Regions from separate parts of the Homo sapiens genome. Here regions 2, 3, 4, 5, 6 and 7 are each linked to region 1. Evidence: promoter capture Hi-C in 16 types of primary human blood cells and fetal thymus (Javierre and others, 2016). All regions are on one chromosome and are shown on one strand. Each heading gives the region's core, a stretch centred on a gene start or on the middle of the fragment in contact. The rest is flanking DNA. Distances are from core to core; before and after follow the strand shown.

What was found. The method cuts DNA at HindIII sites, captures the fragments that hold promoters and counts their contacts. A CHiCAGO score of 5 or more calls a contact.
Region 2: a fragment that was not itself captured here is called in contact with the fragment with the promoter of AIG1 in region 1 in 1 of 17 cell types (total B cells); the score reaches 5.7 in total B cells.
Region 3: a contact is called between a fragment that was not itself captured here and the fragment with the promoter of AIG1 in region 1, in 1 of 17 cell types (total B cells). The highest score is 5.2, in total B cells.
Region 4: a fragment that was not itself captured here is called in contact with the fragment with the promoter of AIG1 in region 1 in 2 of 17 cell types (total B cells and naive B cells); the score reaches 9.8 in total B cells.
Region 5: a fragment that was not itself captured here is called in contact with the fragment with the promoter of AIG1 in region 1 in 1 of 17 cell types (M1 macrophages); the score reaches 5.3 in M1 macrophages.
Region 6: a fragment that was not itself captured here is called in contact with the fragment with the promoter of AIG1 in region 1 in 14 of 17 cell types (total B cells, naive B cells, M1 macrophages and 11 more); the score reaches 12.1 in total B cells.
Region 7: a fragment that was not itself captured here is called in contact with the fragment with the promoter of AIG1 in region 1 in 4 of 17 cell types (M0 macrophages, endothelial precursors, naive B cells and 1 more); the score reaches 6.9 in M0 macrophages.

What each region holds. Positions count from the first base shown.
Region 1 is chr6:143,058,764-143,062,875 of GRCh38, reverse strand. It overlaps AIG1 (androgen induced 1), which reads right to left and starts at 1,987. Exons shown (of 6, transcript NM_016108.4): 1 at 1,810-1,987. The coding sequence starts at 1,950. RefSeq lists enhancers at 1,448-1,497, 2,098-2,227, 2,053-2,991 and silencers at 1,688-1,757, 2,008-2,097. The HindIII fragment of the contact is 5,617 bases long and covers 1-3,630 here.
Region 2 is chr6:142,619,519-142,623,630 of GRCh38, reverse strand. All of the region lies in intron 1 of LOC153910 (a long non-coding RNA gene), which reads left to right. Among named protein-coding and RNA genes, the nearest start is that of ADGRG6, 320 kb to the right of the region's middle. The HindIII fragment of the contact is 1,497 bases long and covers 1,160-2,656 here.
Region 3 is chr6:142,654,542-142,658,653 of GRCh38, reverse strand. No RefSeq gene overlaps it. Among named protein-coding and RNA genes, the nearest start is that of HIVEP2, 290 kb to the left of the region's middle. The HindIII fragment of the contact is 1,038 bases long and covers 1,899-2,936 here.
Region 4 is chr6:142,671,513-142,675,624 of GRCh38, reverse strand. No RefSeq gene overlaps it. Among named protein-coding and RNA genes, the nearest start is that of HIVEP2, 270 kb to the left of the region's middle. RefSeq lists enhancers at 3,464-3,703, 2,648-3,847. The HindIII fragment of the contact is 234 bases long and covers 2,307-2,540 here.
Region 5 is chr6:143,440,325-143,444,436 of GRCh38, reverse strand. The region is part of intron 1 of ADAT2 (adenosine deaminase tRNA specific 2); the gene reads left to right. Among named protein-coding and RNA genes, the nearest start is that of ADAT2, 8.3 kb to the left of the region's middle. The HindIII fragment of the contact is 1,537 bases long and covers 1,402-2,938 here.
Region 6 is chr6:142,688,250-142,692,361 of GRCh38, reverse strand. No RefSeq gene overlaps it. Among named protein-coding and RNA genes, the nearest start is that of HIVEP2, 250 kb to the left of the region's middle. The HindIII fragment of the contact is 3,484 bases long and covers 106-3,589 here.
Region 7 is chr6:143,421,760-143,425,871 of GRCh38, reverse strand. It overlaps ADAT2 (adenosine deaminase tRNA specific 2), which reads left to right. Exons shown (of 6, transcript NM_182503.3): 6 at 1-3,040. Among named protein-coding and RNA genes, the nearest start is that of ADAT2, 27 kb to the left of the region's middle. The HindIII fragment of the contact is 1,676 bases long and covers 1,542-3,217 here.

The DNA of each region.
Region 1 (4,112 bases), core at 738-3,237:
CTAAGTAAGATCTGACTTAGGAATGGGATAAGGCAGTGTCCCAAAAGGAGTTTTGCTCACATAGCCCCTCAAAGAATTCTGAAAATCTATGCACATATTTTTAAATAACATCTCAACATCCTTAACATAGTTAAGTGTAAACACTTGAAAAAGGGACATCTTTCTGGCGCTCTATGGGTGGTATGCTTGCTTCATATACATATGCATCAGAACCTCAGGGTTGCAGATTTAGCTCATTCAGTATACAGAAAATGTCTGCTACACAACATAATTGGCAAAGCCAATCCTCATTGACAAGCCAATCAACCCAATAAGACTTTCTGTCAAGGCAACTCCGACATTGTTGTTCAATCAAATATAAAGATAGCCCTGGTGACAACCATCTATCTTCTGGAAGCTAAAAGGAACAGACAGAAAAGCACACCTCAGAGTCTTGTCACGGGCTCCTCACTTGGATGAATGGGGAGAATGAAAGGAGAACTGGCAGGCATCACGCATGTTCAGAGGGAAATTAGTTTCAAGCAGAGTTGGAAGATGAGGATCTGAAAATTAAAACCCTTGCAACATTCTATACCCTGTGAAGTCTTGTGGGCCTAAGGGTATGTGCACAGTTTGGAGACTGCTGGGCAACAGAATTGAAATTCCACTCTGAAAGTATCTAATATAATGCAAATATAAGGTGTTATTTTTAAACCAAAAGCCTCTCTGCATTTCTTTGAGGCATCCTAAGCCTTTGGAAATTTTTAAAACAGGTATCATGTTCTCTTCATCAGAATGGAGGGTCAACAAGAGATTATAATCTTGCTGGTGTAGCCAACCAACTGTATAGTCTTGGATAAACAGTTCAGGGAGTCCCAGGAATTGGTTCTACAATTTCTCTGAGTGCTTTAGAACTTCATTGCTTTTGTTTTAAGCCTCTTCCTAATAATCTTTTAGCGTGTGTCTTAGTCACCTTTACCCTGAAATTCCTAGGTCCATCCATGAGTTCATTATTGGGCCTTATGCCCATGTTCTGTTCTCCAGGGAGGTTGAAGAGGGCCTTTTAGTGCCAGAAATAGAAAAACTTTCAAAATGATATACTAATAATAACCTGCACCTGTCAAGATTATCATATTGTGCCAACAGAGGAGCTGCTTATGCAAACTACTGTAAATTTGTACATGGGAAGACAGAGAAGTGTGTACAGTCACCTTGGAAATGCACTTTGAACATCTCTGTCTCCTAATATGTACGGGGTAAAGGTTGAAAGTAAATTATTGACAATGGGGGAAAAAAACAGATGCAAAGAAGACAACTTTATTAGGTGCTTTCTCTCCCTTATGAGAAGGATTTGGTTCTTTCAGGTGAAGTTCCAAATCACTAGACAATACCCAGTTTCCTTCAGTTGCAACAAGTTCATCCCACGGTGGGTGCTCTGAAAAGCACCTTGAGGGCGAATGGGTCTCAGGCCATTCAGGATCAGGTCCGATGCTTTTGTTGAAGATTCTTCCCGTGTCACCTCTTAGAAGCAGTTCGGTGTCCCCCTCCAAAGAGCCCACCACCTGGCTGCGCCCCACCTCCATTTGTCCCCCAGTTGCCAGGTAAGGGTACCCAGCTACCAGGTAACGGTGAGTGGTTCAGAAGGTGCCGCTGCGGGGGCAGCCAGGCCTTCACACGCAATCACTGGGGAAGAGGCGAGGACACGGGTGGATGCTGGAGGCGCGCACGTGCGCAGGTGCTCGCGCATCCACACACACACACACACACACACACACACACGCACACACAGGCACGGGGTGCGGGGCGAGCAGGGGGAGGGGACGGCCTTACCAGATCAATGAACGTCAGGAATTTCCAGCTCCCTCCGTAGGTCTGGTGTGAGGGCATTTCGATGGCCTTGTAGTTACACAGGATAGAGCAGTAAGACAGCAGGATTGCCATCCGCAGCACCTGGCAGGGGACAAGCGCCATGTTCGCCAGAGGCCTGGACCGGCTGGGCGGCAAGGAGGGCGGGCGTGAGGGAGGCGCCGGGCGCGCGGGGGCGGGCGCCGTGGGAACCCGGGCGCGGGCGCGGGCGCGGGGCGGGGCGGGGCGGGGGCGGGGGCGGGGGCGGGGCGCGCGCCCCCGGGGACTGGCGCGGCCGCGAGCGCCCGGGTGACCTGTACTGGCCGGGCGCGGTTTGCGGACGCTCTCCACTGCCGGCCGCGGCCTGGCAGGCGGCGTGTCGTCATCTCTTTCGTCACCTTCGTCATTCTGCTCCTGCGTTCGCAGGGTCCCGGGACACCCGGCCAGGAGGCGCCCCCTAGGCATCCCAGGTGTGGATGCGACCTCTGAGTGCTACGAGGGCTCGGGAAGTGCGCGCTGATCTCCAGGGGGAAGCGGGCCCTGTGGCTAGTGGGCGCCGGGCCGGGCGAGGGGGCGGGGAACCTAGACTGAAGGAGTGGACCCCAGTGTCCACAAATGTTCCCGCCCCGGAATCGCGGTGACGCTTCCTGGGGTAGTTGCAGTTGGCCGAGAGCTGGTGCCCCGTGCGGAGGGATCCGGTGGGGGTGTGAACGTGGGGTGTAAACCCGAGCACAGGCAGCCGCGAGTGACTTTCAGTATTTTGGGGCAATAAGGTTTTCAGTGTTGACAAACGACTGTCAATCACTAGGAAACTCTCTCAATTCTGCTTTCAATGGGTAGGCTACGCAGCACTTTTCCATGACAGATTGAATAATGTCATATCAGTATATAACATCAGCTAGAATATGAACTTTGGACAAGAGGTTTATAGATAAAAAGCTATAAAGAAAGGATTTTCAAATAACTTTCTGCCACAAGATTGCATTCAGCTTTAAAAAATTCCAATTTTGGATGTAAAACCCCTGCGTGTAATTTAATACTAATCATCTGGTTGTTAAACTGGTTTTGCCCTTACTTTTTTCTTACACTACACTACCAGGGCTTAATGGAAGGAAAATAAATATAAACTGGAGTCCCTCCTGCCTTCCAGTAAATGTTGTCACACTGAAGTTGCATCAGTCTGTGGGCAACATTTTCATTTCAGCCAACCAGTTGCAGGTTCGGATTATGAAAAGGCAACATAGGTATTTCCTGTGGATCCATTTAAAACAGGTGTCCTCTTCAAATAGTCTCTGAGTCAGAGGATGTGGAGGGAGGGCTGGTGGGGAGAAGCATAGTGCTAGAGGTAAAGAGAAAGTAGCAAGCAAGCCATGGATGTTTTCCTGAATGTTTCCAATCAAGCTCTAAACTAAAATGAAGAGACCCACTAGATTTTTTTAATTGGCATTATAATTATGCTAATAGAACTGATGTCAGAAGAAGATTCTACTAGCATTAAAACGATGTATTATTGATGATTTTTGGTTAAATCTTAATGTAAAAGTTGGCTTTATTTTTTTAATTGTGCATCCTTGGTACATGGTTATAAACTGCCAAAAAAATAAAAATAAAAAAGAGTAGATCTATTGAAGATCTACCTACCTTAATAATGTGTCTGGAATTGGTTCCTGCCGGTAGATTAGTGGTCTCAGTGACTTCAAGAATGAAGCGGCAGACCTTGGTGGTAAGTGTTACAGCTCTTAAAGATGGCACAGACCCAGAGTGAGCGATAGCAAGGTTTATTGTGAAGAGTGAAAGGACAAAGCTTCCACAGCATGAAAGGGGACTGGAGCGGGTTGCTGCTGCTGGCTGGGGTGGCCAGCTTTTATTCCCTTATTGTCCTCTCCAGTGTTCTGTTTCTGTCCTATGAGAGTGCCCTTTTTTCAGTCCTCCCTGCGATTGGCTACTTTTAAAATCTTGCTGATTGGTGCGTTTTACAGAGTGCTGATTAGTGTGTTTTACAGAGTGCTGATTGGTGCTTTTTACAGAGCGCTGATTGGTGCATTTTACACTCCTCTTGTAAGACAGGCAAGTTCCCCAAGTCCCCACTTGTCTCAGGAGGTCCAGCTGGCCTCACCTCTCAATAGAGCCTTAATAAAGTTTTATGAGTTAATGTGATATTTGCAAAGTTTGATATACCCTTCCTACTTTACATGTTAGACAATTATTAAGACTCCCCAACCCCATTGTTACAAAATGAAATAATATTTTCATAAAGCCATTTTTAATGGTCAGGTTTTTTGTTTTGT
Region 2 (4,112 bases), core at 659-3,158, 440 kb after region 1:
ATTTTAATTTACTTAGAACCACATTAAACAACATTAAATATAATTTAAAACCCCATGATGAAGAAGGAAGGAAACTTTATATTATTTTAGTGCCTTCAATGACTCTTTTCCTGCTTTTTACCAATGAACCCTGCATTTTCATTTTGCACCAGCCGTGCAAACTACGTAGCTATACCTGCTGAACCCAGGTTAGAATACATTCTCTTCACTTGCAAGTCACAATGCCTCCCTGAGCTCTGGTTTGATGCCAGAATTGAGTGGTGATGATTATTAGCCTACAACAAGGAAACAATGAAGCCTTGTTTAAATAGTTTTCACTTTATCTAAGTTGTCATAATCATAATTTCATAGTAAGTATTAATACACCCAAACTTGCCCATCTTTCGTCTGTTCTGGTTTTTAATTAATTTATCTCATAGCCCTGCTCATGAGACAAAATGAGGTAGTGTACAAGCAACTCATAAGACAGTTTATGTTAATTACTGCTGTTTTGGCTTGATTGTTGAAACGTGGTTATCTGCTGTTGAAATAAAAGAGCAGTTCTTTGTCTCAGCTGGAAACAAATGATTAGGATATAGGATGCCTTTTCCAAAGAGAGGAGCTTTTCAAAGAGCACATTGTCATTATTTTGGGAGAATCATTCTGAAGAGACAATATTTGCTCTTTTTTCTTTTCACTTTCAATGCTATTAACATAAATTTGAAAAGATTTTGATAGGCATTCACATCTCCTATGAGGTAGCATATGAACCTGGATACAATTTAGTTTCCAGAACAGTTTGGAGCATTAGCCTTGTGTATCAGCTTGTTAGGGCTGCCACAATAAAGCACATACCAAAAACTTAGTGACAGTCTTAAACAACAGAAATTTTTTCTCTTAGTTCTGGAGGCTGGAAGTCTGAGGCCAAGGTGTCAGTAGGGTTGGTTCCTTCTGAGGGCTGGGTGGGGAATCTGTCCCATGCCTATCCCTTACTTTTAGTGGTTTGCTGGCAATCTTTGGCATTCTTTGTTACGAACAAGCCTTACCCTGATCTCTGCCTTCATCCTCACATAGCATTCTCCCTGAACACGTGTCTGTGCCCCCAACATCCCCTTTTTATAAGAAACATCCCCTTTTTATATAACCTGTCATATAAGGTTAGGGTCGAACCTAATAAGCTTGTTTTAACTTGTTTACCTCTGTAAAAACCTTATCTCCAAATAAGGTCACATTCTCCGGTACAGGAATTAGGACTTTAATATATCTTTTGAGGGGATACAAGTTCTTGGAAATATTAAACTTGGCCAGGATAAGGAATCAAAATCTTCCAGTCTCCATCTGTCTCTCTGGCTTACTATTGAATTCTTCAGTGGAGGCCAGCCTGTAGAGGCCTCATGAGGCTGACACTGAAGTTCTCCTGGTGACAAAGATTAGAGAAAGTTGTGTCCTTCTACTCCAAGACATTGGTCGCCTGAACAGAAGGTCATGCCCCTTTCATCCCACCACACCGTAGTTTCAGACACATGTGTATGTGTGTATGTGTGTGTATTCAAAAGGAGTCAGAAGGACTTGGAAATGTTGCAGCAACTTCTCCCCAGAGTACAGTAGACTTGTGTGGACACCAAATACCACTCCTATCACATGGTTTGATTAGGTTATCTGACAGACCATGTAACAGTCCCTGAAACTTGGAGGGCATTCAGGAGTTTTTTGTTAAATAAATAAAACTAATGAGAGGGAGCTCTGTTTCTTACATACTTTCTCCAACTTTTTACTTCCTTATCTTTTTTCACTGGAGTCTAGACCATGAGTAGAGGGTGGGGATGTATTTATATGTTTAGTTCCTGGTCCACTGTCAGTGGGGTCTACCATTATCCCCATCCCTTGTACTCACAACTCACATGCTTTCCATAAAGAAGGTTGATGCTTGCAGTGCACAGCCAAGTTTACTTGATATAGACCGTCTAGCTTTTTCCTACCCTTAGAAATTGCTTGGACTTAGAGCAATGATTATGCAAGTGTGTGTCTGTGATCTACCTGTGACTGAGGTTGACAATCTCCTTTCTATCTCACTATTTTGCTGCCTAAGCCTTTTTGCTGACTTTGGGTGGCAGGACAGGTTCTTCACCAAACCCCACTTTTAGACATCTATTCCAAATTGAAGAATGAAGTCAGCATGTTATTTTTCAACTTAGTTTGACTTCATGAATGGGAAATAGTTTGAAGGCTTTTTATATGCTAATCTTAGTCTAAATTGAAAAACTGTTCACAAGTTTTATTCATTTACTCATTCATTTACATGTATGTATTTGCATATTCTCTTCACTATATCCATTTAAACACAAATATATTTATACTTCTTATAAGTGAAGATTAGACACCAAGATGAAGAAGGCAAAATACAGTTTCCTAGGTTCGGGGAACATCCAGGCAAAAATATTTTTCAGGATGTTGCAAGTATGGGTCTGGAGTTCAGGAAAGATATTTGAGACTCAATTCTCTCAAGATGATGGCTTGACTCTTGATATTAAATGAGATTACCAGGGAGAGAGTGAAGACAGAAGAGCAAAGAAAAGGGACAAGAGATAAATCATTATGTTAGGCCAAAAGAGACAAAATTATTCAACTTATTCCTGATTTGGTACTTTGATGTCCCTTTCTGGAATTTAAACAAGCTTGACTTAGTGTTAAAATTAAACCACAGTCCTATCTCTTATAAATTTTGTAAGTTTGTAAATCCCTGAGAAACTTCTACTCACCATGACTGACATCCTCATAGCCTAAGCTGGTTATGTCTTGAGAGCCAGGGCTAAAAATAAAGGCTAAAACTTATGTAGTACTTTGTCTTGTACTAGACATTAAACTGAACAATATTTACATGTGTAATATCATTTAATCTTCAAACTAATGCTATAAATCTATCAATTATCTCCATTTTACATATAAATACCAGGAATGATGAGGTTAATTTGTCTAACATTAAATAACTGAAAACTGGCAGAGTGCAGGTTCACACCCTCAGCATCTCATGTGAGAACGTGTGCTCTTAACTATTGCTCAGAATGGCCTCCCATGCCTGTGTCCTGAAGGTTAAGGCAGAGTCTCATTCACTTTTCTAATCTCCTGCTCAGACATTATAGAAACCAATGAAAAATAGTTATTATTCAATAACTATTATACAATGGCACAGACTTTAATTTGAAAGGGTTAAAGTGAAGATTTTTTAATATAAAAAGGAGGATAGGCCGGGTGTGGTGGCTCATGCCTGTAATCCTAGCACTTTGGGAGGTCGAGGCGGGCGGATCACGAGGTCAGCTGATCGAGACCATCCTGGCTAACACGGTGAAAACCCGTCTCTACTAAAAATACAAAAAACTAGCCGGGCGTGGTGGCGGGCGCCTGTAGTCCCAGCTACTCCGGAGGCTGAGGCAGGAGAATGGCGTGAACCTGGGAGGCGGAGCTTGCAGTGAGCCGAGATCGCGCCATTGCACTCCAGCCTGGGCGACAGAGCGAGACTCCGTCTCAAAAAAAAAAAAAAGGAGGACAACAAAGTAAGCACAGACCCCTGGGTAAACTAGCATTCAGGTCTTAAGAAAAGTCAGGTGAAATAACCTAGTAAGTCAGTAAGTTAGGGCTGTGAAAAGGTGCTCAGATTGTCTTTTCCTTTTCGTATTAATAACAGCTATCCCAGACCTTTACCTCATCAAAGGTCACAACTCCATCCCTGTCCCCATCACCCTTACAACTCCATCCCTGTCCCCATCACCCTTACCGTGAACCCACAGCAGGGGAAATCACAGAGTCATTCATGGGAAATGCAGGCTGCCAGTGTATGATGTTTTCAGCTTTCCCCATACTCACCTTCCTTAGGGCTTATCTAGATGGTTATCCATCCTTCTGACCTTCCTATTTTAACATGTTATTTATTTATTTATTTATTTATTTGAGACAGGGTTACACTGTGTCACCCAGGCTGGAGTGCAGCAGCATGAACACTGCAGCTTCAACCTTCTGGGCTCAAGTGATTCTCCCCGCTTAGCCTCCCCAGTGGCTGGTACCACAGGCGTGTGTCACCACACCCAGCTAAGTTTTTTATTTTTTGTAGAGACAGGGTCTTGCCATGTTGCTCAGGC
Region 3 (4,112 bases), core at 1,168-3,667, 400 kb after region 1:
GAATCAACTTAGATGCCCATCAACAGTGTACTGGATAAAGAAAATGTAATATATATACACCACAGGACACTACATAGCCATAAAAAATGAACAAGATTATGTTGTTTGCAGCAACATGAATGCAACTAGGGGCCATTATTGTAAGCAAATTAACCCAGAAACAGAAAACCAAAGAGCACATGTTCTCACTTATAAGTGGGAGCTAAATATTGAGTACACATGGACATAAAAATGGGAACAGCAGACACTGGGAACTACTAGATGGGGGAGGGATGGAGGGGACAAGGATTGAAAAACTACCTATTGGGTACTGTGCTCACTATCGGGGTGACAATATCATTTGTACTCCAAACCTCAGTGATATGCAATTTACCCATGCAACAAACCAGCACATGTACCCCATGAACCTGAAATAAAAGGCTTTTTTTTTTTTTAAGTACCTCAGGATGTGACCACTTGGAGATAGCATTGCTGCAGATGTAATTAGTTGAGATGAGGTCACTGGGGTGATGAGCCCTAATCTAGTATGAGTGATGGATGCCCTTATAAACAGGGGAAATTTGGACACAGATGCACACACACAAGAACACCATGTGAAGATGAAGGCAGATACTAGGGTGTTGCTTCTATAAGCCACAGAATGCCAGCAAACCACCAGAAACCAGGGGAGAGGCAAGGAACAGATTCTCCCACACAGCTCTTAGAAGCAACCAACCCTACTGACACTTCAATCTTGGATTTCTAGCTTCTAGAGAGATGATAAATTTTGGTTGTTTAAGCCACCCAGAAGATTGTGTATTGTTATGGCCAGCCCTAGGAAACTAATATACCCAATTAACTGCTTTACACCTGAGATTGTGTGAGTAACAAAATACTTGACTATGTGAGTGACACAAAGGTTTGAAATATGGTCCTTATCCCTGAAAGGCTTATGATCTTCATGGTGAGATATGTTAACAGAATTCAAGTGAGGCTAGGGCGAGGAGTGATTCACAAATTTTTGAAAGGAATTGATCTAATAGCTGGACCAAATCAAATAGAGAAAACTCTCTAACAATACAGCCCTGGAGATAGAAAATATGGTGGAGATATTAATGAAAGCACAGTATTGTTATAGCATTGAAGTGAATGTGCTTATCTGTTGGTGAGGGAAATGGGATTCAATCTTTCAAACCCAAGGCAAGAACAAATTCATACTCACAAGGGAAGTAAGGAAGGACAAAATGAAGGTGAACAAAACATTAATGTGGGTGGGGAGATGGAGGGAAAACAAAAACTAATGTGTATCGAGTATGTATTACTTGCTAGACTTTTTTTTAGGTTTTTTACTTTTTATACATTCCATCTCATTGAATCCTCCCAGTAACCTTGTTAAATACCCATTTAGAAGTTAATAAAATTGAGGCTCAGAGGGATTAAGTATGTTGCCCAAGGCCACACAGGCTCAGCTAACAAGTGGCAGAACAGGGTTCTGAACCTAGGCTATCTGGCTCCAAAATGCATACTCATTTTACTACCTTCTATCATATTATAATGAAATGGCATAAATATAACACAAGTAGCTGAAGAGTAGTTATAGTTATGCTGTTTACTAGAGCTGCCCATCAACTTCAGTACAGCGTACATGGATGACTGAGCTTCCTGGCTCCTTTGTGGTTGGGTGGGTCATGGATTGTTCCTGAACAATGGTTCCGGCTTTTGTGAAAAGATGTCATTCGTGGGCCAGAACTTTGTCACTAGGGAAAGATCTTCCAGAGCTCTGATTTCTCTGCCTCAGCAATAGTAGAAGCGTGTGTTATGATATAGACTCTATCTACCTGTGTTCCTGAGAGACTGTGATGAACTAATATCCTCCCACTGACCTATACTCGATATATACCATTAGTGAAAAGCAAGCTTTGGCTGGTTTAAAGTTATTCTGACTGATAAAGTAACATACATTTAAAATTTTTTTTTGGTAAAATAAGTAGTGTAGGAACTGAATGTCCCTTCATCTCTAAAATTCTATGATTTAGGCAGGGTTTGTCACTATAAGAGCATTGCATTCTGCAAGTATGAAAAACATTTGTAGGTATGTAAAGGAAGTGATTAAATTACTATTTATAATGAGTTCTAATGTCAGTTTTTTGTGTTCAATCATCGTATATGTGACAGTGATGATAAATCTGCCCTTTAATGGTGCAAGGTGTCTGCCTGCCCCACGCAGGTCTCACTCTTCTTGCACCCCATGATGATGAGGAGGAGGACAGGCTTACACAAGAAGGGGCTTTTGTGTGGCACCAAACAGTAGTGACAGGAGATTTGAAAAGGTAGGGAAATGAATCAAAAGTTTCACAGACTCAGAGGCTATCACAACTAGTATACGCTTTATTTTTGAACACTAGGCAGAGATAATAAATGCGAATACACGTGATGAGAAACCACCTTGGGGTGGTACACCTGAAGAAATTTCATGAAAAAGACTGAACTTGAACAGAGACTCAACAACTTGGAATGAAATAGACTAGATGGCTTGTGGGAAGCAGAGGTTGGAGCAAAGTAATGGGTCAACACATAGAGAGGGCAAAAATGAGGTGTAGTCAGGGAGCAGAATGTGTGTGAAGGGATCGGAAAAATAAGGTGGCCATAGATAAGCATTAAACATTTAATTTCTAAAGAAAAGAACACCAAATCTATGCAATATTCATCAGATTTACAAAGGCATCAGCATGCCACGTGATCCCAGCAGGCCTGAAGTCTTAGGCGTTGAGTAGCAGGGGTGATCAGTGGTATATGAATGCTTTGTGTGAGCCGCAAATGAGCTCACTCAAACTGTGCACGAGGGAATTCACATGAGTCTGGAAGAAGCAGCTGGAAATGAGGAGCTCCCTGATCCAGCTTCCCAAACACCTGACTCAGGGGGCATAGGACTATGCAGCCTCTCACCTGGAGAAGCTTTCTGGGGCTGTGAAATCCCCAGGGAAGTGACAATGTTTGGTCAAGGTTAGGAGGTGAAAGGAATAATCATGGAAGTAGAATTGGCTAACCATGGATAGGGAGTTCCAGAGAGCACTGAGGAAAGGTTAAGAGGAGAAGAAACTTGTTGCGGGCTTGGCAGAGGAAAGAGGCAACATAGAGCAATATGAGGATAAAACGTTGAAACAGGAGAGAGGATCAGAACAAAAGGGGCAAAGTAGGTGAGGCATGGGGGATTTAGTTTGGCAGTAGATGCCAACTTAGGCCCAATAGTCCCCTGGTAGCCTCAGAAGGCATGGCCCCGAGGCCCATCAAGAGCTAGCTGTGCTGGAGTTCCCTGTCCTTCCCAGGAAAGAGAGTCTCTAGGGAGATTGCCATCAGCCTCTTTTCAATGAGTCAGCTGAGGCTGGGATGGACAGTGCATATCCCAAGCACAACTTCCTTGAGGTTTTTCATGTTGTCCATAAGCAGAATAGGAAACTACACACTGCTCTGAATAGGACGTGCAATCCACCACCTGCTGCTCAAGGCTATTACCAAGACTGTACATGAAGCAAGTAAGGAATGAACAACTTCACAAAAAACTTCTTGGTACCTCAGAGATCTTCCTGTGTGTGGGGAAAGCCCATCTTAAAATACCATCATCTTTAGAAAGAATTGTAATTCTTGAGAATATCACATCAATAATGATTAAGTACAACACAGGTAATTTAGACTTAAAAAATGATCTTTGTTGCTATTTTAAGTTCATGCTCTTTTCACTATTCTGGGGAATGGATGCCATCGCAAAATTGTGAAATTACAGCGAAAAGGAAAATACTTATTAAAACTGTTCCTTTCATTCTCCATCCCATAATGGCCATTGCAGAGAAGCAATCCTACACAGCGCTGCTCTGCCTTCACTTGGGTTCTGGGCTGAGGGGAGCAGAGGCAGCACTGGCTGCAGGGCCTGGCTGCAGAGGTCGTGCTCTTCCACCACAGGTAGAACACCAGGGTCTCCCTGAAATGCTGCACTTCATGTAGTTCCAAGCCTGAATTTAGCATAGAGGACCTACTTCGAGAGGCCACTATTCCAATTTTCCTCTGACCTCTAGCAGCAGAGATGATAACTCAAGTGCCATATGATGCTTACAAAGTCTGATAGCAGAGATGCTTTA
Region 4 (4,112 bases), core at 1,174-3,673, 390 kb after region 1:
ACTGCTAACTGCCAGGCATGGGTGGCAAATGTGGCTTATTCCTGAGCTCAGAAGGAGAAATGAGTTTGTAGACACCTGGCCAGCTCCATCACAGATGCCAGACTCCTTCCCTTTCCTTCTCCTTCCCCTTCTACACTTTTTCTGCTTCCTAGAGTTTACTCAGTTTTAGGGCTCCGGTGAGAAGCCGCCATTTTCTACCCCTTTCCGAAGGTCCCTTAGTTGTCTGGGAGCCAGGACTTTGCACTGGAATAGCTAACTCTGTGTTGGACAGGTAGTCTGGAAGAATATTTAGAAATAGTACTTTTCAAATGTTTAATCATTAAGCATTAAAGTGTGGGAAGGAATAATGTATGGCTGACACGTGTATTATTTTCCACAGAAAAATGGCAAAGTTTCTGACATGGTCTTTGCCATGTCAATATTTCATGGAAGTGAAGTATTTCCAAAATGAATTTAGCCAAATATTTTCAGCAGACATAAATATATGGAGGAAGCTCTATGTAGTCTAATTTATTATTTAGCAAGAGACATAAAGTGTATGATGAACAATAAACAGTAATATTTTAAGTTCAAAGTTCCTACTTTAAAAATGATTTTGCTACTTCATGAAGAATGTATTTCAACTTTCTGTCTTTACCTACCCTTGGTGATCAAAGGCACCTGGCTGATTATTATTCAAAAAGAGAAAATTAGAAATTTAAATTTTAGAAAGAAAGATATGTCCACCTCCTCTATCACTAATGCCTACCTCAGTCATTCATTTTTCTGTTATTACGGGGGAGGAAGAGGGAAGCTAAGTGGTGTTAACTTCCACATGGGTTAAATGCATCACTTTGATGTTTTTCATTAACAGTATTTTATTCAGTAGATTATATAAGACGTAAGTAAGTTTTTACAATTGGGCATCTTGTCTGTGTTTTTGCCCTCATGAGAATTTTAGTGAAGAAGTCAATGCATTTGTAAAAGACTGTTAAAGGAGACAGGAGGAATTAAGGAGGGATAACACATAAATTAGGGAAACATTGGCTTTAAGCACAGAATACAATTTCATGCAAATATAGTTCAGATAGTTCTTCCTGGGGCACATTTTTGATTTTTATCTTAGTTTTTTTTTTTTTTTTAAATGTTTCCCTTATGGATGTACCAATTAGGAAGGAGAAATGTAATAATTTTTCATTTCTACTTTTCAAGGAGTAATTCGTTTTGGTTTATTCACTTGTGAGATCAAAGCCACTTTGTTGTTGAATTTAATAAATCTTAATAGACAAGTCCCATTTATTTACCTGTAAGCCCAAGCTGATGTGGTGTAGTATTCCTTCCCTGGCTGGCTGCTTTTTTGCTATAGAGAGATTCTTTCCTCGTCATTTTCTCCCTAAAATATAAGCTTCCTTAGGGCAAATTCTTGGCTTACTCCCATCGTATTCCCAGCACCTAAGAAAATATTGCACAGATACTGAACTCTCAATAAATATTTGTTGAAAATTTGAATAGATAAATGGAATCAAGGGATCTTTAGTGCCTCTTGGGCATAAATAGAAATTATTGTGCCAGAATGTCCTGGGTGTAGACCTGAAGATGAATTAAATAGTTTTGTAACCTACATTGACTGTATTAAAAATTTACTCATTTGCTTTTTTTTAAAATTGACATGTTATAATTATACATATTATGGGATACAATTTGATGTTTGATACATATATATTGTATAATGATCAAATCGGGTATAACCATCACCTCATGCACTTATCATTTCTTTGTGGTGAGGACATTTAAACGCCTCTCTTCTAGCTATTTGGTAATATACAATACCTTACTGTTAACTGTGGTCACGCCACTGTGCAATGGAACATCAGAACTTATTTCTTCTATCTAGTTTTAACTATGTACTTGTTGACCAAATTTTCTCCATCCTCCCCTCCTGCCTCCCCTACTCAATCTCTGGTAACCACTGTTTTACTTTCTGCTTCCAACTCATCCACTCCTTTATTTATTCATGAATGTATTCTGTGGATCAGGCACTGGGTTAGGCATTGAGAACAACAGGATTTATAAGCCCCTGCTAAGAATTTAATTTACTGAAGATTAAAAGGCTTATTCAAACTTAGGCAATACGATGACACACAAGATGGACTGGAACTGCCAAAGGAGAGTGTAGACCCATTTATGGGGCACTGCAGGACATGACTTTGTCTTTTTAATGGGTCTTGAAAAGCCAGAGACCCTCACAAGTTTTTGCAATTAGACTGGCAACTACTTCAGGGCAGAAATAGTGTTTTTCCTTGTATGTTTTGTAGAAGGAAGAAGCTTTCTTCTAACTGGAAATCATTAAGTATATGTTGGTTGATTGAGTTATACTGATAACAACACCCTAACCCGTTGAAGAGATTTAAAATGGTAACAGCGATTCCAATTAGTCTTCCATGGAAAGCAGGGGTGTAAATGGCTTTTCTCAGGCAAAACTGGCTTTATTGGGTGCCCTTAAGATATCTAGGGAAAGACATATATTGCAGAGCTTCCGATAGTCTGAAAGTAAGAAAGCTTGAATATCTCCATGGAACTTTTCCTCTGGAGTGCCTATAAATTCATTTCCCTGGACTTGGATATAAATGAACTGTGCCTCATTTGCATTGTGTAACCCACTAAAAAGGAAATCACCCTCCACATAAAAGAAGATGTGGAGAAAGCATTTTCCAAGTGGACCGAATTTTAAATGTTTGTCTTATGTTATCTGAAGAAAGTAATACCTTCCTTCTTTTCTTTAATGTACCACCATTTGACAGGGGGTGGTTAGTGGTAGCTAAATTTTATTTGTGCCCCCTCCCCAATAATAGATTTCTAATTAAATAAATGTTAGATCCAAAATAGACGAAAGCATGAGATGGAATAAAAGACCCTTGCAATAACATAATGAGAAAAGTATTTTTAAACTGAGTTAACACTGTTTGAAAAATGAGGCAAACTTGATTCTGTCAAATCTGGGGCTCTCATGAGGTGAAGTTTTTGTACACACAGGCACAGATGTGTGCTGACAGATATTCAGAAGCGAGAGAAGATCATTCTGTGGAGAAACAGACATGAATTGGTCATATAAATCTTTGGAACAATCATAGATGAGTCAAGGCAAGTTTTTACAATGAATGCATGTTAACAAAACATTTATGATTTAGCCAAGGTGTCTCAATATTTAAAAATTGTACCGATTAGCAAGAAAAAGAGGTAAGTGATGATAAATCAGTTTTTCTCAAACCCAAAGACAAGCAAGGAAGGGGGGAAATAGCCAGCCTCTGTAATTTATTTACAGTAGAATGTGGAGTAATCAACTTGTCATTTTTTTCACTTTAAGATCTTTGAAAACCATAAGTTCTTAGAGACCTGGAATTGATCCTCTTTTTAGACATCCTTGTCTCTGATATAGGTTATAATAGACCATAAAGAGCAAAGGTGCCAAGTAGAAAAGGATAATCCATAAGAGAAAGTAAAGCTAACCTGCCATGCTTGTTTAAATGTGGGTGGCTCTGCCCTGGGAAGTCTCAAGGGACCCAGGCTCATCCTGTCTTCTTGCTCTGTTGCCTTCACACGTGGCTTCCATCTTGTGGTATGCTCACACTTCTGCCAGCAGAATGGAGGGCATACTTCTTCTTCTATAATAGCATGATCTGAAAATTGTACACTTCAACTTATCTCAGCTCCCATTGGCCAGAACCTAGTTTCAGGGCCACACTTAGCTGCAAGGAAGCCTGGGAAAGGTAGTCTTTGGCTGAGTGACTGGGGATCAGCTAAAACTCAGGGGAAAGAGGCAGAGAAAAGATACCAGGAACAATTAACAGACTCTGCCACTCAGCTTGAGAGAGGAATATGGGCAGAGTCTTGAAACTGAGATGGTGCAGGTTGAGCACCACGGCTGGGGTATGTGAAATGGAGCAGTGCCAAATAGAGTAAGAGGTCAAGCTGTGGTCAATAGATGAATTGATGAAGATTAATAAGGTACAAGTATTGACAGCTTACTCAGGACCAGATACTATCCTAGGTGGTTTGTGTGAACTCACTCATTTAATCCATCAAGCAACCCTTTCAAATAAGTATGATTATTACTTCCATTTAAGAGATTAAAA
Region 5 (4,112 bases), core at 921-3,420, 380 kb before region 1:
AGTGAAGCAAATCTACATGTTAATTGTTGTAAAGGAGTTCCCCTCAACTCACTTCCATGGGGCTTTGTGTTATTCTCACCGCCCCCTCCCCTGCCTACCATTCCAGTTGCTTACCCACTCATCCTCAGCATGGCAGGCTCGGCCATTCCTCAACAATGACGTTATTTGTCCTTTTAAAATATTCCGATCGCTCATATTTGCTCTCTGTTTCGGACAGCAGTGGAAGGCATTTCAGGAAAAAAAACTGTGTTACTCAAAATAAACATGAAGATAATATTGAGAGGAGTGAAATGAAATAAATTTGCTAGACGGAAAAAGAGAAAAATCCAAAGGAAGGAATGGAAGGCACAAACCCAGTAACATGGTGGCGTGGGTGCTATCTCCAGGTGAACAAGACAGAACTTGCAGGCAACATGGAATCTCATCTCCCATCCCACTCACGTCCTTTCCACTCGGCCCTGCATTCTCTTCTGCAGGTTTGAGATGGCCCACATAGCCAATGTAGAGCTCTTCAGGAGATATTTTTACAGAAAATCCTGATCACATGGCCTCCATTTGTTTATTCTCTTGCCGTTTTTGTTTTTTTTTTTAACTTTTTTTTTTTTTAAGACAGAGTTTCACTTTGTCGCCCAGGCTGGAATGCAATGGCACAATCTGGGCTCACTGCAACCTCCGCCTCCTGGGTTCAAGCGATTCTCATGCCTCAGCCTCCCAAGTAGCTAGGATTACAGGCACCCATCACCATGCCCAGCTAATTTTTGTATTTTTAGTAGAGATGGGGTTTCACAATATTGGCCAGGCTGGTCTCAAACTCCTGACCTAAGATGATCCACCTGCCTTGGCCTCCTAAAGTGCTGGGATTACAGGCATGGGCCACTGTGCTCAGCCTATTTTTTACTTTTTTTAGAGATGGGGTCTTGCTGTGTTACCCAGGCTGGAGTGTAGTGGCATGATCATAGCTCACTACAGCCTTGAACTCCTCTTGCCATTTTTTTTATCCTTAAAATTTCCATGTCTCACTCTCTTGCCAACTGTTCTCTCTCATTTGGTCCCTTGATTCACTCTAAACTCAAACCCTGATAAAGCAGCTGATCGGTGAAGTGTCTGTTGTTACTAAAGTAGAAGTTAGAGGCAGAACAGTGGCAGAGAGCCCTGGAATCTGGCCCTTGGTAGGTGCTCCACAAATGTTTGTTGAACAAATGAATAAGTGGAGCCAGGTTGTCTATGCCCTAGTCCCAGCTCTCTCACATGCGCTAGTGAGAGATATATACATGTATAAAAAAAAATCTCCCTGTGCCTCAGTTTCCTCATCTGTAAAATGGGGAAGATCATTATAGGCTTGTAAATGAAATGAATTAATACTTATAAAATGCTTAAATTAGTCCTGGATCAAAGTAAGCTTTCAATAAATTGTAAGCTCTTATGTTCAAGCTCTCAGAACCAGAATACTCGAGATGCAGACAAAACATTACCTCTCTTAAGAGGTTTGTTGGGGAAAGTATAGCTGGAGTTAAAAATTTAACCTCTTAGATAAGTCACTGTTCAAGCTACTGGTTTTCATCTCCACCATTCCACCTAAATTGCCACCACCTTGCTGAATTAGACACACTTGACCACCCTTCCTTCTTGGCCTAGTGTTTTTCTGGGATTGTCCGTAACACCAAATATTTCTCTAAACTCACTAAACATCTCTTTTTAATTCCCATTGCAAAATCCTTTTTGTTTACCTGTACTTATTTTTTAACTTTCATTTTGAAATAATTATAAGTTCACAAGAAATTACAATAATAATATACTGGGAGGACCCAAGTGTCTAGTGTCCTTCAGTGGTAACATCTTGCATAGCTATAGTTCAGTATCAAAACCAGGAAAAATGCATTGGGAAAACTGCAGAGCTTATTAAGATGTCATCAGTTTTATTTGTACGTGTGTGTGTGTGTGTGTGTGTGTGTGTGTGTGTATGCGTGCCTATGCAATTTTGTCATGTTTAGCTTTGTATAACCACCACTGGAACTGTTTCACTACCACATGGCTCCCTTGTGCTACCTCTTTATAGCTGCAGCTTCTAATCTGTTCTCTGTCTATAATTTTATAATTCAAAAATGCTATGTACATGAATCTGTAACCATTTGGCTTGGCTTTCTCCATTCAGCATGATTCCCATGAGATCCATCCAAGTTGTTGAGATTATCGATAGTTCATTCCTTGTTATTGCTGCATTGTGTCCCATGGTACAGGTGTACCATAGTTTGTTTAGCAGTTCACCCACTGAAGGGCATTTGAGTTGTTTCCAGTTTTTGGCTATTACAAATAAAGCTGTTATGAATATTTGTGCACACAGACATACATTGTGTGAGCATAGGTTTTCATTTCTCTGGGATAAATGCCCAAGAGTGGAATTGTTGGGTCATAAGTTAAATGCATGTTTAGCTTTTTAAGAAACTGCCAAACTATTTTCCAGTGTGGCTGTACCATTTTATATTCCGACCAGCAGTATATGAGTAATATCACTTCTCCACAGCCTTGCCAGCATTTGATGTTGTTTTTACGTTTCACTTTAGTCATGCTGATGGGTGTGTAGTGATACCTCATTGTGGTTTTAGTTGACATTTCTCTACCGGCTAATGATGTGAAAACATCTTTTCGTGTACTTATTTGCTATGTGTGTTATCTTCTTTGGTGAAATGTCTGTCTTTTGCCTTCTCATATAGTTTGGATATTTGTCGCCTCCAAATTTCATGTTGAAATTGAATCCCTGGTATTAGTAGCAGGGCCTGGTGGGAAGTTTGGATCATGGGGAGGATACCTCATAAATCATTTTTATAGTGGCAAGTTCTCACTATATTATTATCATGAGAATATACCATCCCCTCCTTTCTTTCTTCTTCTCTTACCATGTGATGCCTGCTCCCATTGCCTTCTGCCATGAGTGGAAGCTTCCTGAGGCCCTCACTGGAAGCAGATGCTGATACCATACTTCTTGTACAGTCTGGAGAACTGTGAGCCAAATCAACTTCTTCTCTTTATAAACTACCCAGCCTCAGGTATTCCTTTATCGCAGCACAAATAGATGAAAACAGTCTTTTTCTAATGGGATTATTATTTTATTGTGGAGTTTTAAGAGTCCTTTATATAGTCTAGATACTAGAGTGTTGCCAGAGATGTGGTTTGTAAGTTTTTTCCTATTTTAGCATGTTTTTCTTCCTCTTTGCTGCATGTATTAGTTTCCTATGGCTGCTGTAACAAATTATCACAAACATGGTGGCTAAAAACAACACAAGTTTATTCTCTTATAGTTCTGGAGGCCAGAAGTCTGAAATTTTAGTGAGCCCCAATCAAAGTTTTGGCAGGGCCGAATAACTTCTGGAAGCCTGCCTTTTCCAGGTACTGAAGTGACATTTATGACCCATCCCTCCATCTTCAAAGCCAGCAGTGCAGCATTTTCAAATCTCTCTCTCTCTCCTTCCGTTATCACTTCGCCTCTTGCCTTCTGTGGGTGCCTTCAGGACCCACCTGAATTTGGGATAATCTCTCCATCTCAAGATCCTCAACAAATATTTTTTGCATGAATAAATGATTTGTCTCTTCTGTGTACCTTGATCTCTGTGTAATTCTACACTTACCTTAAATAAAATTCTTAGTATAATAATTGCCATAGCTACACTGGTAGTTAGCATTTCCATTCTCCTTAACTGTCCGTCTTCTTCCTGGCTTTCTTCTCTATAGTAGCCTATGGTGCATTTGTCTATATTAACCAAACCTCGGGACTCTTCAAGCCTTTTGAACTTGCATAAACTGGACATGCTTTAACCACTGTCACAGAACTGGGACACAACCGGCCTGTGGATAGTTCATAAAATAGTCCTGAATGCAGTCTTACTGCATCAGATACTGTCTTCTCACATCTCTCCATGCCCCATCTCTGACCCACCAACCAGATGGAGAAAAGAGAGGCCCAGTTTGCTCCTGCTGTGGGCGTCTCCTTTTTCCTCTAATGGCCAAATGAAGAATAAGTGTCCGTTGAACATGGTGGGAATAACTGAGGAAATCCTGTATGCCTTATAATAGGAAGTTGTCACTAGTTAAATAAAGTAGAACTGGGAGTAAGAGAC
Region 6 (4,112 bases), core at 598-3,097, 370 kb after region 1:
GTGATTTCAAGAGTTTATTTTGTTTTTGCAATGAAGTGGTCCTGCATAGTTTAGGGTGTTTAAGAGACAATTACAGAATTAGTTGATTGGCTTCTACTATAAGCTTTGATTTGAAAAAATTACAAATCTTTCTCCTAAGTGTGAATTTTGAATTTGAGGTGGCAGAGGGAGGAAGGGTTAGGTGTCTGAAGAAAGTGAAGAGAGGATGTCTAGGGATAATTTGGACATCTTGTAGCATTCAAGATAAATATATTCAAAGTTTTACCTAAGGCTTTTCTTAGAGTTAGATGTCTTGTTTTGAATTCGACTTAGGTTCACACTTAAAGTTACTCTATGTAAAAATGTTCAGACATCCTGAGCAGACATAGAACAACAACAAATGGATTTGATAACAGAATACAAGATAGAATTAAAGATAAAGTCCTTATGTGCTTTGAAGAAATAAAAGATGAGATTTCAAGTCAAGGAAAATAGATTGTACACCTAGTGACAAGACCTCTTTATTTTCATTTTGAAAGATCACAGAGTGACTACAATATGAAAAGATTGTGTGTAGGCTATCATTTCATGCTTGAGAAACAAATAGATGAAGATCATTTCATGTACCACTGGGCTGGGTGTTTAGAGACAAATGTGTTTCTTACCTGCTAGTGTAGACCAGTGAGCAGCAGGAAAGGATATACATTCCCAGCCATGGGCAATCCTTTATCCGCATGTGTGGCCAAGGATTTTTCATACTGTCTTACATTGGCTGGGAAAGTTGACTTCTGAGTTCCCTGACAAATCTGAGATTCTATGACTTTATTAATCATAACTATTAATAACTACAGGTTATATGTTAATAGTTATAGTGGTTATAATTATTAGTTATAATTATTATTTTGTGCAATAGATTCTCAGAATCTGAAGCACCATAGAGGTTAAAAGAGGTAATAGCCATCTTCCTGTCTATAACAGTCTCCTTTTCAACATCCTGGGAGTTATCAACAGCAACTACAGGTTCTGCTCAAACACCTCCAACAAAATAGAACTCCCTAGGTCCCACAACCATTTTTGCTGTACAGTGTTTTCCTGTCATAAGAAAAATAATTTGCATTCACTGTAATAATTTTAGAAAACAAAACCAAAATGTACAAAATAAAAATTAAAAATATCTGTAATACTATCACTCAGAGATAAACACCATGAACATTCTGATGTATGTGCCCAGGTGTGCGTATGTGTGTGTGTGTGTGTGCATGTGCATGCGTGCACATGCGTGCATGGGTATGCACACCTTTATTCTAAAAGAATTGTACTACTCATGTTTTAGAACCATCTTTTATCCTTTTTCATTAAGTATTTGTCCATAATATCACCTTTAAAAGTTCAATAAGCATATTTCGTTTTTAAATAGCTATAATTATTAGGATTTTTCCTTTTATCAAGCTAAACCTTACCTCTTTATAATCTATATGCCTTGCCCCTTTCTCTGTCCTCCAGAGCCAGATGCAATAAAAAGTCTGATCCCTCTTTTGCAGGACAACCCTTTAAATATGTGAAGACTGCTTTCTGGTCTTCCCACCAGTCTCATTTTTAATTTTTTAACTCCCTTATTGAAGTAAATTGGCATATTTAATGTACAGTTTGATTAATTTTAATATAGGCATACACCTGTGAAACCATCACTAAAATCAAGGCAAGAAACATATTCACCTCCTAAAGTTTCCTTGTGCACCTTTGTGTACCTGTGTGTTTGTATCAGGCAAGAATATATATTTATTGTACATACACACCATGGACTATTATGCAGCCATAGGAAGAAACAAGGTCATGTTTTTTGCAGGGACATGGATGGAGCTGGAATCCATTATCCTCAGCAAACTAACACAAGAACAGAAAACCAAACAAATGCTGCATGTTCTCACTTATATGTGGGAGCTGAACAATGACAACGCATGGGCACAGGGAGGGGAACAACACACACTGGGGCCTGTTGGTGGCAAGGGAGGTGAGGGAGAGCACCAGGATAAATAGCTAATGCATGCAGGGCTTCATACGTAGGTGCTGGGTTGATAGGTGAAGCAAACCACCATGGCACATGTTTACCTATGTAACAAACCTGCAGGTCCTGCACATGTATCTGGAACTTAAAATAAAATAAACATTTTTTAAAAAGAATATTCATTTATTTATTTATTTTTGTAGGAATATTTAATGTGATATACTCTCTTTAACAATTTTTTTTTTTTTGAGATGCAGTCTCACTCTGTCACCCAGGCTGGAGTGCGGTGGCGCAGTCTCGGCTCACTGCGACCTCTGCCTCCCAGTTCAAGCAATTCTCCTGCCTCAGCCTCCCAAGTAGCTGGGATTACAGGCACCTGCCACCACGCTTGGCTAATTTTTTGTATTTGTAGTAGAGATGGGGTTTCACTATGTTGGCCAGGCAGGTCTCTAACTCCTGACCTCAGGTGATCCACCCGCCTGGGCCTCCCGAAGTGCTGGGATTACAGGCCTGAGCCACCGCACCCAGACTCTTTAACAAATTTTTAAGTGCACAGTGCAGTTAACTATAGGCATAGTGTTGTAAAGCAGATCTCTAAAACTCATGCATCTTGCATCATTGAAACTTCATACCCATTGAACAACAGCTCCCAATTTCTGCCTCTACCCAGTCCCTGGCACCACTGTCCAAGTCTTTGCTTCCCTAAGTTTGACTATTTTAGCTACCTCATGTAAGAAAAATCATGCAGGATTTTTTCCTTCTGTAACTGGCTTATTTCACTTAGCATAATGTCCTCCAGGTTCATCTATGCTGTTTCATGTGGAAGGATCTCCACATGGCCGAGTAATATGCCATTGAGTGTATAGACCACATTTTTTATCCATTTATCTGCTGATGGACATGTAGGTTGTTTCCATGTCTTGGTCATTGTGAATAATGCTATAGTGAACATGGTTGTGCACTATCTCTTTGAGATCCTGATTTCAATTTTTTTTTTGGATATAAACTCAGAAGTGGGATTGCTGGATCATATGGTAGTTTTATTCAAAAAAATTTTTTAGAACCTCCACAGTGTTTTACATCATGACTGTACCAACTTACTTACATTCCATCACCTATGTGCAAGGGTTCCCTTTTCTCCACATCCTCACCAAAACTTGTTGTCTTTTGTTTTTATGGTAATAGCCAATCTAACATATGTGAAGTGCTATTTTGCTGTGGTTTTGATTTGCATTTCCCTTAGTGATTAGTGATGTTGAGCCTTTTTTCATATACCTGTTGGCTATTTGTATGTCTTCTTTTGAGAAATGTCCATTCAAGTCCTTTGCCCAATTAAAAAAATTGGATTATTTGATTTTTTGCTATTGAGTTGTAGGAGTTACTTATATATATTTTGGAGATTAACCCCTTATCAGATATATAATTAGTGAATATTTTCCTTAATTTTGTAGGTTGCAAAAGAAACAATTGTTTTGCTGATTATTTCCTTTGAAGTGCAGACTCATTTATGTTTGATGTAGTCGTACCAGTCTACTTTTGCTTTTGTTGCCCATGCTTTAAGTGTCATATCCAAGAAATCATTGCCATGACCAATGTCAAGAAGCTTTCCTCCTATTTTTTACAGAAGTTTCAAAAGACCCTGAACAGCAAAAGCAGTCTCGAGAAAGAAGAACGAATTTGGAGACATCACATTTCTGATTTCAAAATATATTATAAAGCTAAAGTAATTAAAACAATATGATACTGACATAAAGACATACATCTAAACCATTGGAATTGAATAGAGAGACCATAAATAAAGTCACTTGTTTATGATCAACTGATCTTCACCAAGGGTATCAAGAATACACAGTAGGAGAGGGTCGTCTCTTTAACAAATGGTTTTGGGAAAACTGGATATTCAAGTGCAATAGAATGAAATTGAATCCTTATCTTACACCATACCCAAAGATCAGTTCAAAATGGATTAAAGACTTAAAGGTAAGATCTAAAAATTTTTTTTTTGGTTTTAATTAGCCTCAGAGGTTTAGGCCTCTTTCATGGTTCACAGGCCCAACTATCATGTTAGCTTGCCTCTGGATTAATTTCAGTTTGTCATTTTCCCCAGAACTGCATACACAATTTCAAG
Region 7 (4,112 bases), core at 1,130-3,629, 360 kb before region 1:
GAGAGAAAATAGATGGCCAAGAGCTTCAGTGTAGGCAAGAACTCTTAATTTTTCTTTAAACTTTTTACTGGGAAAAGTATATATATATAAAATACACACACACACACACACACACACACACACACACACACACACACAAACACAACACACCATGGCCCTTTACCCCGAAATGCTTCAGTATAGTTATTGACTTAAGTAAATTTAACATTGATATACTTGAATCTATCATTTGTATTACAGTTTTGTCAGCTGACCCAATAATGTCCTGTAAAGAAGTTCTCCCACTACCCTATAATCCCAGGTCCAGTCTAGGGTCCAGCATTACATTTACTTGTCTTGAATCCAGCTTTTTCTTTTTTTTTTTTTTTTTTGAGATAGGTCTCACTCTGTCGTCCAGTGGCATGATCACAGCTCACTGCAGCCTCAACCTGGCTCAAGCAATCCTTCCTCCTCAGCCTCCTGAGTAGCTGGGACCACAGACTCATGTCACCACACCTAATTTTTTTTTTTTTTTTTTTTTGTAGAGACAAGGTCTCACTATGTTGCCCAGGCTGGTCTTGAACTCCTAGGCTGAAGCAATCCTCCTTCCTTGGCCTCCCAAAGCACTGGGATTATAGACGTGAGCCACTGCACCGGTCTGCCTTTAGCTTCTTTTAGTCTAGAACATTTTCACTGGCTTTCTTTGTCTTTTATGACATTGACATTTTTAAATAATACAGTCATTTTGCCTCCTTTCTGTTTTCTTCTTCTTTTTTTAAATAATAGAATGGTCCTTGTTTTAAATTTATTTGATATTTTCTTGTGATTAGATTCAGGTGCTGGTTGATGTTAAGTTCCTCACAGGATATCACATCTGGAGGCACACAAAGGCCGTCACACCAAGGTGATGTCAATTTTGGTCATCTGGTCAAGGTGTTGTCCTATTCCTTCACTATATAGTTACCTTTTTTCTCTGTTGCAATGAATAAGCAGTCTGTGGGAAGAGGAGCTGTTACATTTTAAACAGAAAATGTATTTGACACTGATGGAAAGGAGAGGAGGAAAATTAATGACATAAATTTCAAAGCAACTATTAAATTATTTGATTGCATTCTTCCTCTTTTACTGTCTGCCAAAATTGATAAAAAAAATTTTTCTAATAAGAATGTTTTAAATAGTGATATCTTAATAAGCATCAAAATTAAGCCTGAGAAATAAATTCTTTCCTTCCTAATTTCCTCCTCAGCAAAAGTAATAATTATATAAATTTCATTATGCCTGATAAGATAGGGTTTTGGAAAATAGACCTAAGATGTTTCTGATACTGCAGATGACCTATGGTGATCCAATGGGATAAACACTCTAGGTAGGTTGTCATTTGGTCATAAAATATGAGTTATCTTGGGTTTCCATAGAGACATCTAGACTTAAAATGTTGTAAGCACTGCTACTTTCAAAATGTCAGTAAAAATAGCAAAAGCCAAAGCTCTTGAAAAAATTACTTAAATCTTTTTTAAAAGTAGTATAGCGCCTTGTTAAAAATCTGTGGTGATGCCAAAGCTTGTCTTTCCCAGTGGTCCTACGTGAACTGGCCTTATAGCCCCAGGGAAACCAGACACCAGGAATTGGTTTCTCTGCCTTTTGGCAAAGGAATAAGACTACATTGACTTCATCTATGAAGACAACTGCCAACTATTTCCTTTGTAAATTGCTAATTTTGTGTAGTGAGGAAAGGAGCGATGGGCGACGTGATTTTTATGGATTAGACTGGTGAGTTCTGCTGAAAGTTTGACATCTTTAGGATCTTACATTTTCTTCAAGTTGAGCTAATGAAAACAGGCTCGTGACTATTTATCACCTGATTTCTAAGTGGATATTGGGTTGAACACCACATATCCATGACTATTAAGGAGGCTTCATGGTGTAGTTTGACAAAGGCTCTCTCCTTGACCAAACTTCAGTCAGGCCCTAAGTCCTCTTTTTAACCAGGCCTCCACCTTGGCCCCCATTCTTGATGGGCCTATACAGCCCAGCTTTAGCAAGAATCCTGCTAAGCTAGTTTAGAGAGAATCCCACATCCCCAATATCTATGAAATTTCTCATCCCCTACTTTTGATGTGTAAGTCCTTGGCCTCCCTTCAACGAGAAGCCTGTTAAGTTCATTTTGCAAGAACTCTACTCTTGATATCTCCTCTTAGTAATTTCCTAATCACTGACCCCCTCACTCTGCCCATTAGTTATAAACCCCCACATGTTCTGGTTGTATTCAGAGCTGAGCCTGATCTCTTCCTCTTGTTGGGATAGTTTTAAAACCTGCGATAGTTTTAAAACCTATCACTGTAGTCCTGAATTAAGTCTTCCTTACCTTAACAAGTGTCAAAATAAATTTTTCTTTAACATGTTGAAGCATGAACTTGAGAATCTAGAGCAGGAGTCCACAAAGTATGGCCCATGGGCCATATCCAGCCCGCTGCCGGTTTCGGTACCACTCATGACTTAAAAATGGGTCTTACAATTCTGAGTGATTGAAAAAAAATCAAAAGAAGGATAATATTTAGTGACCCATGAACCTTATATGGCAATCAAATTTCAGTGTCCATAAATAAAGTTACATTGGATGACAGCCATGCCCATTTGTTTCTGTGTTGTCTGTGGCTGCTCGTGTGCTACAATGGCAGAGTTGAGCAGTGGTGACAAACCATGCGACTCACAAAGGCCTAAAATATTTAGCGTCTGGCCCTTCGAGAAAATGTTAGCTGCCCCTGGTCTAGAGTAGGTAAAAGGCTGAGATTGGAAGCTGCTTGTTCAAATTCTGTGATTGGAACCGAATGATGTGGCTCATTGTACAGCTCATGGTGAATTGCTTCAGTACCATGGTTTTGTTTTTTCCTTTTGAAAAGTTGGTCTATAAATGTAAAGGAAAAATCTAAGATACCAAAATATGTTTTCTGGCTTAGAATGTTTTATTTCCTTGTATACATTTTAAGAGAGTGGCAAGGAGAAAAGATAATGTATCATTTTATTTGGGTTTAGAATAAATAATACATTTTATTTATGATCATCATGTTTAAAATATTATTTTCTGTTACTGTCTCTGTTTTACATCAAGTAAGCTGAGGCACAGGGAGATTATGTAACTTGCCCAAGGTCACAGAGTGCTAAGTGATCACATCACTCAGAAGGAGCTAGTTAAACCAATGTAACAGCCTTCAAGTTTTAGTGGCTTAGAACCAAAGCTTATTTTTCTCATGCCTTGCTTCTTGTCCATCTCAGGTCAGGCCAGGAGCCTAGGCTAAAGGAAACTTCACCACCGGGGACATCAGCTGCTGTGGCCAGAGAAGAGAACATGGTGAATAATGCTTCATACCTTAGGGCAGGGCTTCTCAAACTTAAACGTGCATAGGCATCTCCTGGGGAGCTTATTAAATTCACATTCTGATTCAGGAGGTCCTGGAGGGCCTGAGATGCCATGTTTCTATCAACCTTCTAGGTGATGCCCATAGTGCTGGACCATGGGCCACACTTTGAGTAAGGAGGGCTTCCTGGCTTTTGCCCAGAAGTGACACATCACTTTTGCTCTCAAAAGAATTAAAGCAAGTCACATGGCCATGCCCAACTTCAAGGCAGCAGATAATATAATCCATTAACTACATCAGGGAGAAGAGAATTGGAATTTTTGTGAACAGCTCCAATGAAGAGCAAACAATGTGAAGCTAGGATCTGAATTCAGGCAGGCTGGCCCCAGAGTCTGTGCTCTTAATTATAACTATATACAGTCATGGGTGTTGGTCCATTCTCTATAAAGAGAATGCCTGCCAGGCAGACAGCTAGTCAGGGAGTTACAGTTGACTTGTGTGACTTGACACCGGGTGACTTAGGCAGCTTTAGAGTTCAGTGCAGCAGTTCTCAGCATGGTGCTGCAACTCTGAAGTGTTTCAATTCATTTTTTTATCTTAAAGTGCCAACATTTATGAATTATTGTTAAATTAAAAACATAGCTGGGAGCGGTGGCTCACACCTGTAATCCCAGCACTTTGGGAGGCCGAGGCAGGTGGATTGCTTGAGCTCCTGAGTTCGAGACCAACCAAAGCAACATGGTGAGGACCTTGTCTTTACAAAAAATACAAAAAATT